Linked DNA regions of Homo sapiens: region 1 is linked to region 2. Evidence: promoter capture Hi-C in 16 types of primary human blood cells and fetal thymus (Javierre and others, 2016). All regions are on one chromosome and are shown on one strand. Each heading gives the region's core, a stretch centred on a gene start or on the middle of the fragment in contact. The rest is flanking DNA. Distances are from core to core; before and after follow the strand shown. Region 1 has its middle 5.6 kb from the start of RAPSN. Region 2 holds the start of ARFGAP2 (ARF GTPase activating protein 2).

Region 1 (7,033 bases), core at 3,403-5,902, 280 kb before region 2:
ATGCACAAACAAATAGCCAAGCTACTGCCCCTGGCAAGCACTCATTAAAGTCGCTAGTAACAACAGTAAGTCATGGTTAAAAGTGAGCGAATGCCCCATCCCACAGCCCATTGATAACAGATGGGGTCATATGCTTCCAGGATTTTGCTTTTTTCTTTCTTTTTTTTTTTTTTTTTTTTTTGAGACGGAGTCTCGCAGTCTCGCTCTGTCACCCAGGCTGGAGTGCAGTGGCGCAAACTCGGCTCACTGCAAGCTCCACCTCTTGGGTGCATGCCATTCTCCTGCCTCAGCCTCCCGAGTAGCTGGGACTACAGGCACCCGCCACCACGCCCAGCTAATTTTTTGCATTTTTAGTGGAGACGGGGTTTCACCATGTTAGCCAGGATGGTCTGGATCTCCTGACCTCGTGATCCGCCAGCCTCGGCCTCCCAAAGTGCAGGGATTACAGGCGTGAGCCACCGCACCTGGCCGGATTTTTCCTTATAAACACAAAAAATAAGTAATTTTTGTTAATAAAAATGAGATCATGTTGAGATCATGCTGAGTATGGTAGCTCGGATTATGCCTATAATCCCAGCACTTTGGGAGGCTGAAGCAGGAGGATTACTTGAGCCCAGGAGTTTGAGACCAGCCTGGGCAACACAGACCTGTCTCTACAAAAAATTTAAAAAATTAGCCAGGTGTGATGGCACACACCTGTAGTCCAAGCCACTTGGGAGGCTGAAGCGGGAGGATTGCTTGAGCCCAAGAGGTTGAGGCTGCAGTGAGCCATGATCGCACCACTGTACTCCAGCCTGGGTAACAGAGCGAGACCCTGTTTCAAAAAAAAAAAAAAAAAATGGCTGGGTGCAGTGGCTCACGCCTGTAATCCCAGCACTTTGGGAGGCCAAGGCGGGCAGATCACGAGGTCAGGAGATCGAGACCATCCTGGCTAACACAGTGAAACCCCGTCTCTACTAAAAATACAAAACTAGCCAGGCATGATGGTGCATGCCTGTAATCCCAGCTACTCGGAGGCCGAGGCAGAAGAATCACTTGAACCCAGGAGGCGGAGGTTGCAATGAGCCGAGATCGCGCCATTGCACTCCAGCCTGGGCAACAAGAGCGAAACCATCTCAGAAAAAAAAGGCCAGGTGCGGTAGTTCATGCCTATAATCCCAGTACTTTAGGAGGCCAAGGCGGGTAGATCACGAGGTCAGGAGATCCAGACCATCCTGGCTAACACAGTGAAACCCTGTCTCTACTAAAAATACAAAATATTAGCCGGGTGTGTTGGCAGGCACCTGTAGTCCCAGCTACTCAGGAGCCTGAGGCGGGAGACTAGCTTGAACCCGGGAGGCGAAGCTTGCAGTGAGCTGAGATCGCGCCACTGCACTTCAGCCTGGGTGACAGAGTGAGACTCCGTCTCAAGAATAATAATAATAATAAAATAAAAATCACACCGTAATATACAGAATGTTTTGCAGCTTGTTTTTTTTTTTTTTTTTTTTTTAGAAGGAGTCTCACTCTTGTTAGCCAGGCTGGAGTGCAGTGGCACGATCTCGGCTCACCGCAACCTCTGCCTCCCGGGTTCAAGCGATTCTCCTGCCTCAGCCTCCTGAGTAGCTGGAATTAACAGGTGCCCGCCACCATGCCCAGCTAATTTTTTGTATTTATTAGAGACCAGGTTTCACCATGTTGGTCGGGTTGGTCTTGAACTCCTGACCTCAGGTGATCCACCTGCCTCGGCCTCCCAAAATGCTGGGATTACAGCCGTGAGCCACCACGCCCAGTCTGCAGCTTGCTTTTTTAAGTTACTATGCCCTGGGCTCCCTTCCATCTGGGTACACAGGTATCTACTGCTTCCTTATTTAGAGTCTACATAGCACTTCATGGTTATGAACACCCTTCTATCAGACACAGATTCTTTCTAGTTTTTCACTACCGTAAATAATAAGCCAATAGAGGGATGTTAGTTCAATGGCTTCTTTTCAAAGCAAGTTATCTTATCATCTCATTTGATTTTCACAGAAAACTTGCCAGAGAGGTGATATCTTTTTTTTTTTTTTTTGGAACAGAGTCTCGCTCTATCGCCAGGCTGGAGCGTAGTGGTGCAATCTCTACTCACTGCAACCTCCGCCTCCCGGGTTCAAGCGATTCTCCTCCTTCAGCCTCCCACGTAGCTGGGACTACAGGCACGCACCACCACGCCAGCTAATTTTTGTATTTTTAGTAGAGACAGGGTGTCACCATGTTGGGCAGGATGGTCTCAATCTCTTGACCTTGTGATCCGCCTGCCTCAGCCTCTTAAAGTGCTGGGATTACAGGCGTGAGCCACCACGCCCGGCCAATATCTTTTTAATTGGGGAAACTAACTTGGTAAGATGGGGAGACTTCCCAAGAATCCCGATAGTCGTGGTAGAGGGACCTTGGGACTGTCCCCTTCAGTTACATTTCGTCATGCATCTGGAGCAGGGGCTGCAACTGTGATGTACTCATGTGAAAGGAGGCCAGCATAAGACAAGTGGCATTTGGCTTCAGTGTCAAGGCGAGAACAGGGAGTCAGGGGTGCATGGTTCCAATGAATGAATTGGTAAGACATTCATGGTCTCTTGGGGCCAGACCCCGACCACTGGAGTGGTTGGTAGGCAGTCAAGGTCTGAGCATGCGTGAGTTTCCACTTTTTTTTTTTTTTTTTTTTTTTTTGAGACAGAGTTTTCCTCTTGTCACCCAGGCTGGAGTGCAATGGCACAATCTCGGCTCACTGCCACCTCCACCTCCCAGGTTCAAGCAATTCTCGTGCCTCTGCCTCCTGAGTAGCTGGGACTACAGGTGCATGCCACCATGCCTGGCTAATTTTTTGTATTTTCCATGGAGACAAAGTTTCATCATATTGGCCAGGCTGGTCTCGAACTCTTGAGCTCAGGTGATCTGCCCGCCTCAGCTTCCCAAAGTGCTGGGACTACAGGAGTGAGCCCCTGCACCAGGCCAAGCTTCCACTCTTCAAGAGAAGCAAGGAAATGTACATTTTTATGTAAAATCTCCTAGATAACACATGTTGCCAACCAACTCAGAAATATTTAGTCCTCACATGCCAGATTGTGACTCTTGCTTCAGGCCCAAACTTAATTTTCTACTTTTGATTATAAAACAGGGATCTAAAATGTGAGGTGTGCAGCTGGTACCTGGCCCAGCAGGCACTCTGGTGATAGCCCTGAATCCCCCGACTGTATCACCACCTTGTGAGGTTAAGTGGCACTGAAAAGACCATTTCATTTTGTGGCTGTTCCCTAACACCTTCCAGGGCTTTTCATCTACTGGGCACTGGTAAGCAAGTCTTAACTCTTTACCCTCTCCTTAATACATGCCTTCTGCCCACCCAGGCTACAGCTTTGGATAAGTTCCCAGTGACTTTGCTGTGCTTCAGGTAAAGATCGCAATGAATTCCGGAAAACTATTGTTCTGTTCTCCACTTTCTCCATCTCCCTTGTCCTCGCCTCCTTTCTAGTACAGTATAATGGTTAAGAATGGGAGTCCTGGCCAGGTGTGTTGGCTCACACCTGTAATCCCAGCACTTTGGGAAGCCGAGGCAGGCATATCACCTGAGGTCAGGAGTTCGAGACCAGCCTGGACAACATGATGAAAGCCCGTCTCTACTAAAAATACAAAAAAAAAAAAAAGCCAAGAGTGGTGGCACGTACCTATAATTCCAGCTACTCAGGAGGCTGAGGCATGAGAATCGCTTGAACCCGGGAGGTGGAGGTTGCAGTGAGCCAGGATTGCGCCACTGCACTCCAGCCTCGGCAACAGAGCTAGATTCCATCTCAAAAAAAAAAAAAAAAAGAACGAGACTCTACAACCACACTGCTTCTGGTCCCAGCTGTCTAGGACCAGCAGATGGCAGTGTAGTCTTGGGCAGGTCACCTTACCTCTCCATGCCTGTTTCCTCATTTGTAAACTGGAAGAAATGCTTAACTCAGAAAATGTTAGAATGTTAAATAGGATTCTCTGTTGGTCTCCTCTTACCTTGCCAGGGGCCGTGCCGTTAGTTACTAGTAGTACAAAGACAAGTAAACCACAGTCGTTGCCATAGAGGAGCATGCCCTTAACCTAACTACAGTCGCTGATTTCTGGAAAACGTGCTCAGAAATGAAATTTTTGAGGCCGGGCATGGTGGCTCACGGGAGGCTGAGGCGGGCAGATCACTTAAGGCCAAAAGTTCGAGACCAGCCTGGCCAACATGGTGGAACCCCGTCTCTACTAAAACTGCAAAACTTAGCCAGGTGTAGTGGTGCTCGCCTGTAATTCCAGCTTCTTGGGAGGCTGAGGCAGGAGAATTGCTTGAACCCAGGAGGCAGAGGTTGCAGTGAGCCGAGATCCCACTGTGTCCGCAGTTGGTTCCTTCTAGTGGGTTCGTGGTCCCGCTGACTTCAAGAATGAAGCCGTAAACCTCTGTGGTGAGTGTTACAGCTATTAAAGGTGGTGCAGACCCAAAGAGTGAGCAACAGCAAGATTTATTGTGGAGAGCAAAAGAACAAAGCTCCCACAGCGTGGAACGGAACCTAAGCGGGTTTCTGCTGCTGGCTTGTTGGGGTGGGGATGGGCTGGTCGGGGAGGCAGCTTTTATTCCTTTATTTGTCTCCACCCATGTCCTGCTGATTGGCCCATTTTACAGAGCACTGATTGGTCCATTTTACAGGGTGCTGATTGGTCCATTTTACAAATCTCCAGCTAGCTACGGAGCACCGATTGGTGTGTTTTTACAGAGCACTGATTGGTGCATTTTACAAACCTCTAGTTAGCTACAGAAAAGTTCTCCTAGTCACCACTCCACCCAGGAAGTCCAGCTGGCTTCACCTCTCACCACCACGGGCACTCCAGCCTGGGCGACAAGAGTGAAAAACTCCATCTCAAAAAAAAAAATAATAATAAAGAAGAAATGAAATGTTTCAAGGAAACATAAGGTACTCTGCTACCTAGAATAAGCGAGTATGGGCATATTCCCATCACTGAAGTCAGATGAGCAAAGACCTGTCTCAGGGAAAGGACAGCTTGATCCCATCAAGTTTTCAAGTTTTGAGGTCATTTGAGTTCCCCAGGAAAGAGGAAGGCTGTGGTCCCCAACTCTGTTGGGGTGTAGATGCAGGCCGCCCTTCCTCCATTCCTTCCTGCCAGAGACTCAATGTGAATAGTGTCTGGGCCTTGGAGTGGGGAGAATCTGCTGGCCCTTCACACCTTCGCTGTGGGCCCAGCTTCCCTCCCATCTGCAGCTCAGCATCAACCCAGGCCTCCCTGAGATGAGAGAAGACCCCAGCCAGCTCTCCCTCCCTTTCCCAGGCTTAGGAGCACTCCTTTGGGGAGTCCAGGTGGCCTTGCCCAGCCACCTGTCCCAGAGCCTGCTCCCACTCTGCCTCTGTTGAGCCTGGGGCATTTGCCTTCTGACCCCCAGAGCGTCCCCTCTGACCCGTTGGGCTCTCAGGAAGCAGGCCGTGTAGTTGCTCTGAATTTCCCGGTGAAGCCGTCTTTCCTCCGCTTCTTCCCCATTCACCGATATTTGACATTTATTGAGGGGCCACAGTGTGCCGGGCCTTGCTCTGGGAATACAGTCAGTAATGAAGGAGACAAAGTCCTGCCCTGGGTTAGGGCCCAGCCATATGACCTCATTTGAGTGAAGAATAAAGACATTCAGCAAACAACCTCACTAATATAAAATTATAGAGAGGCTGGGCGTGGTGGCTCACGCCTGTAATCCCAGCACTTTGGGATGCCCAGGCCAGCGGATCACTTGAGCACAGGAGTTCAAAACCAGCCTGGCCAACATGGTGAAACCCCGTCTCTACTAAAAATATAAAAATTAGCTGGGCATGGTGGCATTGCCTGTAATGCCAGCTACTTGCGAGGGTTGAGGTGGGAGGGTGGCTTGAGCCCAGGAGGTCGAGGCCTCAGTGAGCCTAGATTGTACCACTGCACTCCAGCCTGGGCGACAAAGTGAGACCCTGTCTCAAAATAAAATTATAGAGATAAGTCCTGTATCAGAATGCAGTGTAATTCAATGAGAGGATAATATGCTGATTCATCCTAATTATGACTTACGAGGCAGAGTGTGGGTGTGGTGAACAGAGAAGGAATTAGGAGGTGCAAAGGCCCTGGGGCAGACAGGTAGGCAGGTACCAGAATGTAACAGTTGCCATATTACTCACACTTCTGCTCCAAGCATATACCTAAGAGAAATGAAAACATGTCCCCATAAAACCTAGTACATGAATTTTTTATTTTTTTGAAACAGGGTCTCGCTCTGTCACCCAGGCTGGAGTGTAGTGACATGATTGCGGCTCACTGCAGTCCAAGCTTGTAGGCTCAAGCGATTCTCCTGCCTCAGCCTCGCGAGTAGCTGGGACCACAGCTGTGCACCACCACACCCAGCTAATTTTTTTTTTTTTTTGTATTTTTTGTAGATATGGGGTCTCGCTATGTTTCCCAAGCTGGTCTCCAACTCCTGGGCTCAAGTGATCTGCCTGCTTCAGCCTCCTAGTGTGCTGGGATTACAGGCGTGAGCCACCGTGCCCAGCCCAATTTGTACATGAATTTTTATAGCATCATTATTCATAGTAGCCAAAAATGAAACAACCCAAATGCCTATTAACTGCTGAATCAACAAAATGTATATCCAGACAATGAGTATTAACCAACCACAATAAGTAATGAAGTTCTGATACGGTTGAAAACATAGTTGAATCTTGAAAACATTATGCCAAGTTAAAGAAGCCAGTCACAGATGACCACATATTGTATGATTCCATTCCTGTGAAGGGTCCACAATAGACAGGTCCATAGACACCAGGTGGCTTAAATAACAGAAATTTATTTTCTCACAGTTCTGGACGCTAGAAGTCCAAGATCAAGGAATTGGCAGAGTTGGTTTCATTCTAAGGCCTTGCTCCTGGGCTTGTAGATAGCCATCTTCTCCCTGTGTCTTCACGTGCTCTTCTTCTGTGTGACTGTGTCCTTTTTAAACATTTATTGTGGGCCAGGTGCGGGGGCTCACGCCTGTAAT
Region 2 (6,832 bases), core at 236-2,735:
ACCCTGGGACCCCTTTCCTAGCTTCAGCCTCTGCCTTATCTGCCTGAGCAGGGGTGTCAGAAAGGGAAGCCAAATACCCACTTCTTAAGGGCCAGTCCTCTGTCCCTTCAGCTGTTCCAGGTCCAGATAGCTGGTGCCTGGTGGCTGCATTCAGGGTCTGGGGTGGGGCAGCTTGCTGACCTTGACCTGCCTCTGCCTGAGCCATGTCTTTGCTAGCTGGGCTCTGGGACCACACCATCCCCCTCAGTCCTTGACCCAGTTGCAGGAACAGGGCCTGGGCCAGGGCCACTGGCAGTGACCAATCCCCTTTCCCCCAGGGGAGGAGCTGCTGAAGATGAGTGAGGAGGACGAGCAGGGCTGGTGCCAAGGCCAGTTGCAGAGTGGCCGCATTGGCCTGTACCCTGCCAACTACGTGGAGTGTGTGGGCGCCTGAGTGTCCTGACAGCCCTTCTGCAACGTTTACCCACCCTGGTTCAGAGCCCAGCTTCTCCTGGAGAGCCGGACCCTCAGGGCCCTGAACCGTCGCTCTCTGGCTGCTCCTCTGTCCCTTGAGGGAGGAAGTCCTGGGACCCAGGGAGGGGAGGGGCCTTTGTCTAGGGAAGGGACTGGTAGGGAAGGGACGAGTCTAGGCTGAGGGCAAGATGGGAGGTCAGAGGTGACAGAAGCGTTCAGGGGTGCCTGGGCCTCCCCAGGAGCTGTGGACTCAGTTCCTGACCTCTGCTTTGGGGTTCCTGGGGTGGGCTTGGGGTGAGTGTAGTTCTGGCCTAGCAGCACCCTCTTGTGGCTTGTTCTAGCGTGTATTAAAACTTGACACACACCCACACACAAAAACAAAAACACCACTGTCGGGCTCATGTGCATTTTTTTGATAGGACACCCTTGCCAGGCCACCAGAGGGCATCTAGAGAGAGGCCTAGCGTCTGTTATGGGGCCGGGGTTGGAAAAGGGTTTGCCTGCTTGGTACCTGCTCTGGAACTTCGAGATACTAATCTGGAGTGGAGGGGACTCGCTGTCAGGCTTGCTGTTAACCGAGAACGGCTGAAGGCTGGGCGAGACGCGGGCCAATGCGTCTGCCCGTTCGGGCCGGAGGGACGAGGAGTGTTTGGGCAGCCTAATCCTTATTCATCGATCTGTAATTAGCTGGAGTGGGGGTCCCCGCCCCCAGCCTCCCGCAGCCTGCGCGGCGTGGGGGCGACTCCACCTGGGGGTTGCGGCGTGGGAGGGGCGGGGGGAAGGGTACTACGCGCGCGAGGAGGTTTGGGCCGGTCCGCGCGCCGTCGCCCCGCCCCGGCTGCGGATTGGCCCGGCGCGGCGTTGATTCTTGCGGCCGCGGTTGTCGTCGCCGCCCCCGTCCCGCCGGCTGCCCATTGGTCCAGATCGGACTCCAATCACCCCACCCCTCGGCTGGCCCAGGCACCGCTGAGGCCGGCCTGGTGAGCCCGCCCTCCCCGCCGTGGATTGGCCCGCGGCGGGACCCGTCAGCCGCGGTTGTGTCTGGGAAGGAGAGAAAATGGCGGCGGAGCCGAACAAGACCGAAATCCAGACTCTTTTTAAGAGGCTTCGCGCAGTTCCAACCAACAAGGTGCGTGAGCAGGGGGCGCGCGGAGTCTCTCGTCCCGCTGGGGCCTGAGGGAGGGAGAAGGGCGGAGGTGGGTTATGTTTCTGGGGTGTCGGTGCCTGGCCTTTACTCGGGGCCCCTGACGATTCGCTCATCGCCGCCTCCACCCAGGCCTGTTTCGACTGCGGCGCCAAGAATCCGAGTTGGGCCAGCATCACGTACGGTGTTTTCTTGTGCATTGACTGTTCCGGGGTGCACCGCTCCCTGGGCGTCCATCTGAGCTTCATCAGGTAGGCTCTCCGCGCGGTTGCCGTGTTTCCACCCGGCCGGCCAGGGGTGTCTGGGCAACAAGGGAGAGTGGCTGCCTCGACTTGGGCCGCTCTGAATTCGGTGGGAAGCCTCTGGGCCGAGAGGGTCCGGTAGCCTCCTGCCAGAGGGAACCACCTGTGTGGGCCCTTTGGCACATGGGCGGTCCGTCTCCGCCTCTGGGCCAAAACTTCCTCTTTTTTGACGGTCAGGCTTGAGACTCTGAGCGTTAGTTGAGGGGAAAGGGAGGCATTGACCTTGTTGTTGCTGATATGTTGTTAGACCAGTATGTCTCTAGTGAGACTGTGACCATCCATTAGGGGAAAGCCAAATCCAGGCGTGCGTGCCTGAGAATGTGACCTCCTTTCGGATCTGGGGACATAATTAGTACTCTTTGGAGTAAATGAACGAAGAGGAGAGTTTTCATGGACAGGGTAGTGTGGAGGAAATGGGGTGATGGCTGATTAATGTTTCCTGGGTGCCTACAGCAGCCTGAGGCCAAGTGACAGGTATCCGGGTTGCCAGGGAAATCCTGCTGGTATCTGCTAGTGGGTGAGACGCAGCCCTTGTACACAGGTCCACAGAGTTGGATTCCAACTGGAACTGGTTCCAGCTGAGGTGTATGCAGGTCGGCGGGAATGCCAATGCGGTAAAGCTCCTTCTACTTCCCTCACCTTCCATTCTTCTGCCTGGTTACTAACTTTGCACGACTCCCTAAGAGGCCCTGTCGTTTTCCCTGTTCAGAGGGTTCTCTGTTCTATAACACCACCATAAGCTATTTTCTGAAAACTTCGAAACTGGTCACAGCTTCTCTTAAATGGGTTTCAGATTCCAATTAAACTGGGCAGGTGTTCTTGGGGAAAAGCCACAGGAGTTGGGAGCCTTCACAGTCATTGGGTCTTGTGGGCCTGCCCTGGATGAAGGATGGGGAGGCTGGGTATGGGATGTTGTGCTCAGGCAGCGTTCAGTGGGGCCTGGACTTCAGTCATATCAGAGGATGGCCCGCTGCAAGGTGTTTTTTGCAGGAATTTCGAGAAACTTTATCTCTGAAAAACCGGTGTCAGTAGCGTGTATCATCCTGTATAGATAATAACTTCGCTGTCATAAGGAGATGTCTCCTACAGCCAACACGTTTCCTTCTTGAGAATCACCCGTAGCACGCGCTGCTCTCTTCTTTGCTCTCCAGACGGCTTTTTTTCGCCAACATGGATGCACAGCCAATGATGCCAACACCAAATATAATAGCCGAGCTGCCCAGATGTACCGGGAGAAGATCCGGCAGCTGGGGAGTGCGGCCCTGGCTAGGCATGGCACTGATGTAAGTGCCTGTTCTTGGGGCTGGGGCAGGAGGGTTAGGAGTATTCAGAGCCCTGTGTTTTAGGGGTGTCTTCTCCTTTCTAGCTTTGGATAGACAACATGAGTAGTGCCGTTCCTAATCACTCCCCAGAGAAGAAGGACTCTGATTTCTTCACAGAACACACTCAAGTGAGTGCCCACAAGGAACCGTTTTCCCAGTTGTTCTTGACAGGCAATTTACCAAGGCCCAGGCCTTCTGTGATCATGGTTGTAGATTCCATTTGCTTTGATGTGATGTCTTGGACACCACGTATGAAGTCCACTGTTCCTGCTGGGTAGGCCTAGGTGTTTCCTCCTCCATAAATGGAGGTGCAGTGTAGCCCTCCTTAGAAATCGACTCCTATAAATTGGGCTGGCGGGGAAGAGAGGCAGCTTCTTGAAGTTTCAAGAGGTGTCCGGTGCCCCAAACAAATTTTCCTGGATTCTTCCCCTATAAGAAAGGCACTGTGGGCCGGGCGCAGTGGCTCACGCCTGTAATCCCAGCACTTTGGGAGGCCGAGGCGGGTGGATCATGAGGTCAGGAGATCGAGACCATCCTGGCTAACAAGGTGAAACCCCGTCTCTACTAAAAATACAAAAAATTAGCCGGGCGCGGTGGCGGGCGCCTGTAGTCCCAGCTACTTGGGAGGCTGAGGCAGGAGAATGGCGTGAACCCGGGAAGCGGAGCTTGCAGTGAGCCGAGATTGCGCCACTGCAGTCCGCAGTCCGGCCTGGGCGACAGAGCGAGACTCCGTCTCAAAAAAAAAAAAAAAAAAAAAAAAAAAAAAAAAAAAAAAGGCACTGTGCTTGGGGACAGTGAAAGGATTCTCTCCTCCCCGCCCCACCCCTTTGAGGAGGGTTTCCTCTTTACTGGCCCTGGGTGCTGAAGTTAGACTCTTGGCTTCAATTCCTGTTCTCTACTCCGCATTCCTGTGATGGTGGCCAAGTCACTCAACCTGTCAAAACCTCAGTTTCTAAAATGGCGATGTAGCTCCTTCATAGGGGTTGTAGTGATAATTAAATATATTCATATATGAGGAGCCTTTAGATCTGTGCCTGCCTAGGTGGTGGTAGTTAACTGTCTTTAAGTTAGGAGAATGGGCTCTGGCTCTAAGTAAATAGTGAAGGGGTTGGGGTGGGGGCTGCTTGTCTTCCTGCTTTCTTCCACAGTGAATAGCAACTGTGATCTTGTTTGCTACCCTCCAGTCCCTTTCCTCATGGGTTTGGAGTATGATTTCTTGTCCACAAGGTGCTTGTAGGTCTTGGTGCTTCTTGCCAGCAGGAGTGGCTCACCGAGGCATCTGTGATCTGGCCTCCTTTTCAGCCCCCTGCCTGGGATGCGCCAGCCACTGAGCCTTCAGGGACCCAGCAGCCAGCCCCGTCTACAGAGAGCAGTGGCCTGGCACGTGAGTTCAGCCCAGATTCCAACCAGGTGCCCTGGTCCTAGGAGAGGACTCAGGGTTTGGAAGGGGACATCTGGCCATGACAATAGGAGCAGGGGTCCTCCTGTATCTTTGGGTGGGCCGGGATTCATTTTAATCCTTGGAGGAAGTGGTAGATATTCCTTTTATCTTTTGGTGGCAAGCTGAGGAAAGCCACCGATTCTTGTCCCATCACTTCTTTCAAGGGGAGGTTGCAGGAAGCTAGGAGCTCATCTCTAACTCCTACCATTGCATCCACAGAGCCGGAGCATGGCCCCAACACAGACCTGCTTGGCACCTCACCCAAAGCCTCACTGGGTCAGTATGCCAGCGGGCAGGCGTGGGGTGTCTGGGAGAGGGTGGACCTCAAATGTTCTTTTCAGAGGTCCTACTGCCTGGCCGTGTGGACAGAGGCCACAGGAGACTGAGCATCTATCTGATTCTCTGGAGTGGGGACTGTGATTGAAATAGTGGATGCAACACTGATTTTAGAGCCAAGCCCTTTGAATTGATGAATCTGGGTGGGCTGGTGTATAAGGCCTGGGGTCTGCCTCTGAGTGTGGGGCTGGGTCTAGCCAAAGTGTTGGGGAGGCCAGCATGAGACTGGACACCTATCCCTGGGCTCTGAGGCAGGGCTGGCTTGTCTGGTGCATTTCCGGGGGTGGAGGGACAGCTCTGAGCTGCCGAAGGCTGGAGGTGACATTGTTCTTTCTCAGCCAGTACCCCAGCCTGTCCTTTAACTCTTTCCTACATTTTCCTTAGTGTCTTTCAGACTTGGTTCAGGGCGAACAGTCCATTTGCTGACCTCGGTTTGTTCTGTTGACTCTTGGGGGTTGGGGCTGGAACCCAGCAGAGTGACTGTCAGACTGATCCATGAGAAGGCTGGCATAGCTTGGTCTGAAGCAGGGCTTCATAGAGACCGCTGGGCTTGGGAGCTCTGTGGAGGCTCTGGGGTGGGCCTCTTGTTAGCCACAAGTCTGTTTCTCCTCCAGAGTCCGTGTATCTGTCAGCTAAAGGGGCCCTTCCTGCCAGAGGTAACTGACAGCTGCTTGGGGAGCCCAGCCCCTGTTCTCAGCTTCCTGCTTTAGAAGCGGAGCCTGGTGCTCACCATATGCTCCCTGCCTCGCAGTCTTTGTTTTGGTTCAGGGAATTTGGACGTCTCTGGTGCTTCGGACGTCTCTGGTGCTTCAGGTCTAGGTTCCTGTCTCACTCTGCTGGGTGCCAGTAAATACCCCAGCCACGTCTGTCTTTGGCTTTGACACCGCTGGTTGGAGCTGGTGGTGGCAGCTTTGCCTTCCCTTGCCTGAAGCTGTTCTTAGGAGCTCTTGCCATGAAGCTGCATGGTGTATACTGAGCTACTGCCTCTGAGCTGCCTTTGTCTTAGCTCATGCCTACCCGTTTCTCACGCAGAACTGAAAAGCTCCATCATTGGCAAGAAGAAGCCAGCAGCAGCTAAGAAAGGGGTAGGTGGGGAGAGGTGGTATGGTAGAGGGGTTAGGAGCTGGGTGCAGGCTACCTGGGTTCACTCCTTGACCTTACCACTTACCAGCTATATGACTTTGGCAAAGGTACTGTGTTTCTCCGAACCTCGCCTGTGAAAGGGATTTAAAGATTTAAAGGGATTTAAAGCCTGTCTTCAAGGGCTGCTGGGAGGAGTCGGTGAGATGGAGCACATCTAGTGCTTGGCGGAGTGCTTGGCACATACTTGGCCCTGTCAGCATTAACTGCCGTCCTCAGGCCCGGGCTCTGCTGGGGCTGTGTGAGCCGCCCATGCCCAGCTCCAGCGGAGCACTATTGTCTTGGCCATGCTGGTTGGGCTCCTGTTTTTTACCCTAAATTTTAAGAAGGGCCTTTTCCTTGTGGGTGTGGCTACAGTGCCTGAACCTGGGAGGGATCTGAGGAGAGTGTGATTGGGAAGGCCCCTTACATGATTCTGTTCCCAGCTGGGTGCCAAGAAAGGCCTAGGGGCCCAGAAGGTGAGCAGCCAGAGCTTCAGTGAGATTGAGCGGCAGGCTCAGGTGGCAGAGAAGCTCCGTGAGCAGCAGGCAGCCGATGCCAAGAAGCAGGCGGAGGAGTCCATGTAAGTGTTTGCTGCCGGGGCCTCAGGCTTCTGCGGGGCTTGGTGGGTGGGTATGTTGGACAGGTCAGGATGGGTGGTGGCCACTGACACCTTTGTTCCCCCTAAGGGTCGCCTCCATGCGTCTGGCCTACC

What was found. Contacts are between HindIII fragments. The CHiCAGO score rates a contact against its expected background, and 5 or more counts as called.
Region 1: a fragment that was not itself captured here is called in contact with the fragment with the promoter of ARFGAP2 in region 2 in 1 of 17 cell types (naive B cells); the score reaches 5.8 in naive B cells.

Annotation. Positions count from the first base shown.
Region 1 is chr11:47,451,235-47,458,267 of GRCh38, reverse strand. No RefSeq gene overlaps it. Among named protein-coding and RNA genes, the nearest start is that of RAPSN, 5.6 kb to the right of the region's middle. RefSeq lists an enhancer at 2,356-2,855. The HindIII fragment of the contact is 3,355 bases long and covers 2,975-6,329 here.
Region 2 is chr11:47,171,532-47,178,363 of GRCh38, reverse strand. ARFGAP2 (ARF GTPase activating protein 2) reads left to right here and starts at 1,485. Exons shown (of 16, transcript NM_032389.6): 1 at 1,485-1,582; 2 at 1,730-1,848; 3 at 2,441-2,513; 4 at 3,051-3,182; 5 at 3,266-3,349; 6 at 4,524-4,605; 7 at 4,882-4,938; 8 at 6,031-6,083; 9 at 6,564-6,700; 10 at 6,807-6,832. The coding sequence starts at 1,511. PACSIN3 (protein kinase C and casein kinase substrate in neurons 3) reads left to right here. Exons shown (of 11, transcript NM_016223.5): 11 at 318-842. The coding sequence ends at 433. RefSeq lists enhancers at 358-407, 488-537, 385-966, 1,508-1,737 and a silencer at 1,028-1,457. The HindIII fragment of the contact is 14,588 bases long and covers 1-6,832 here.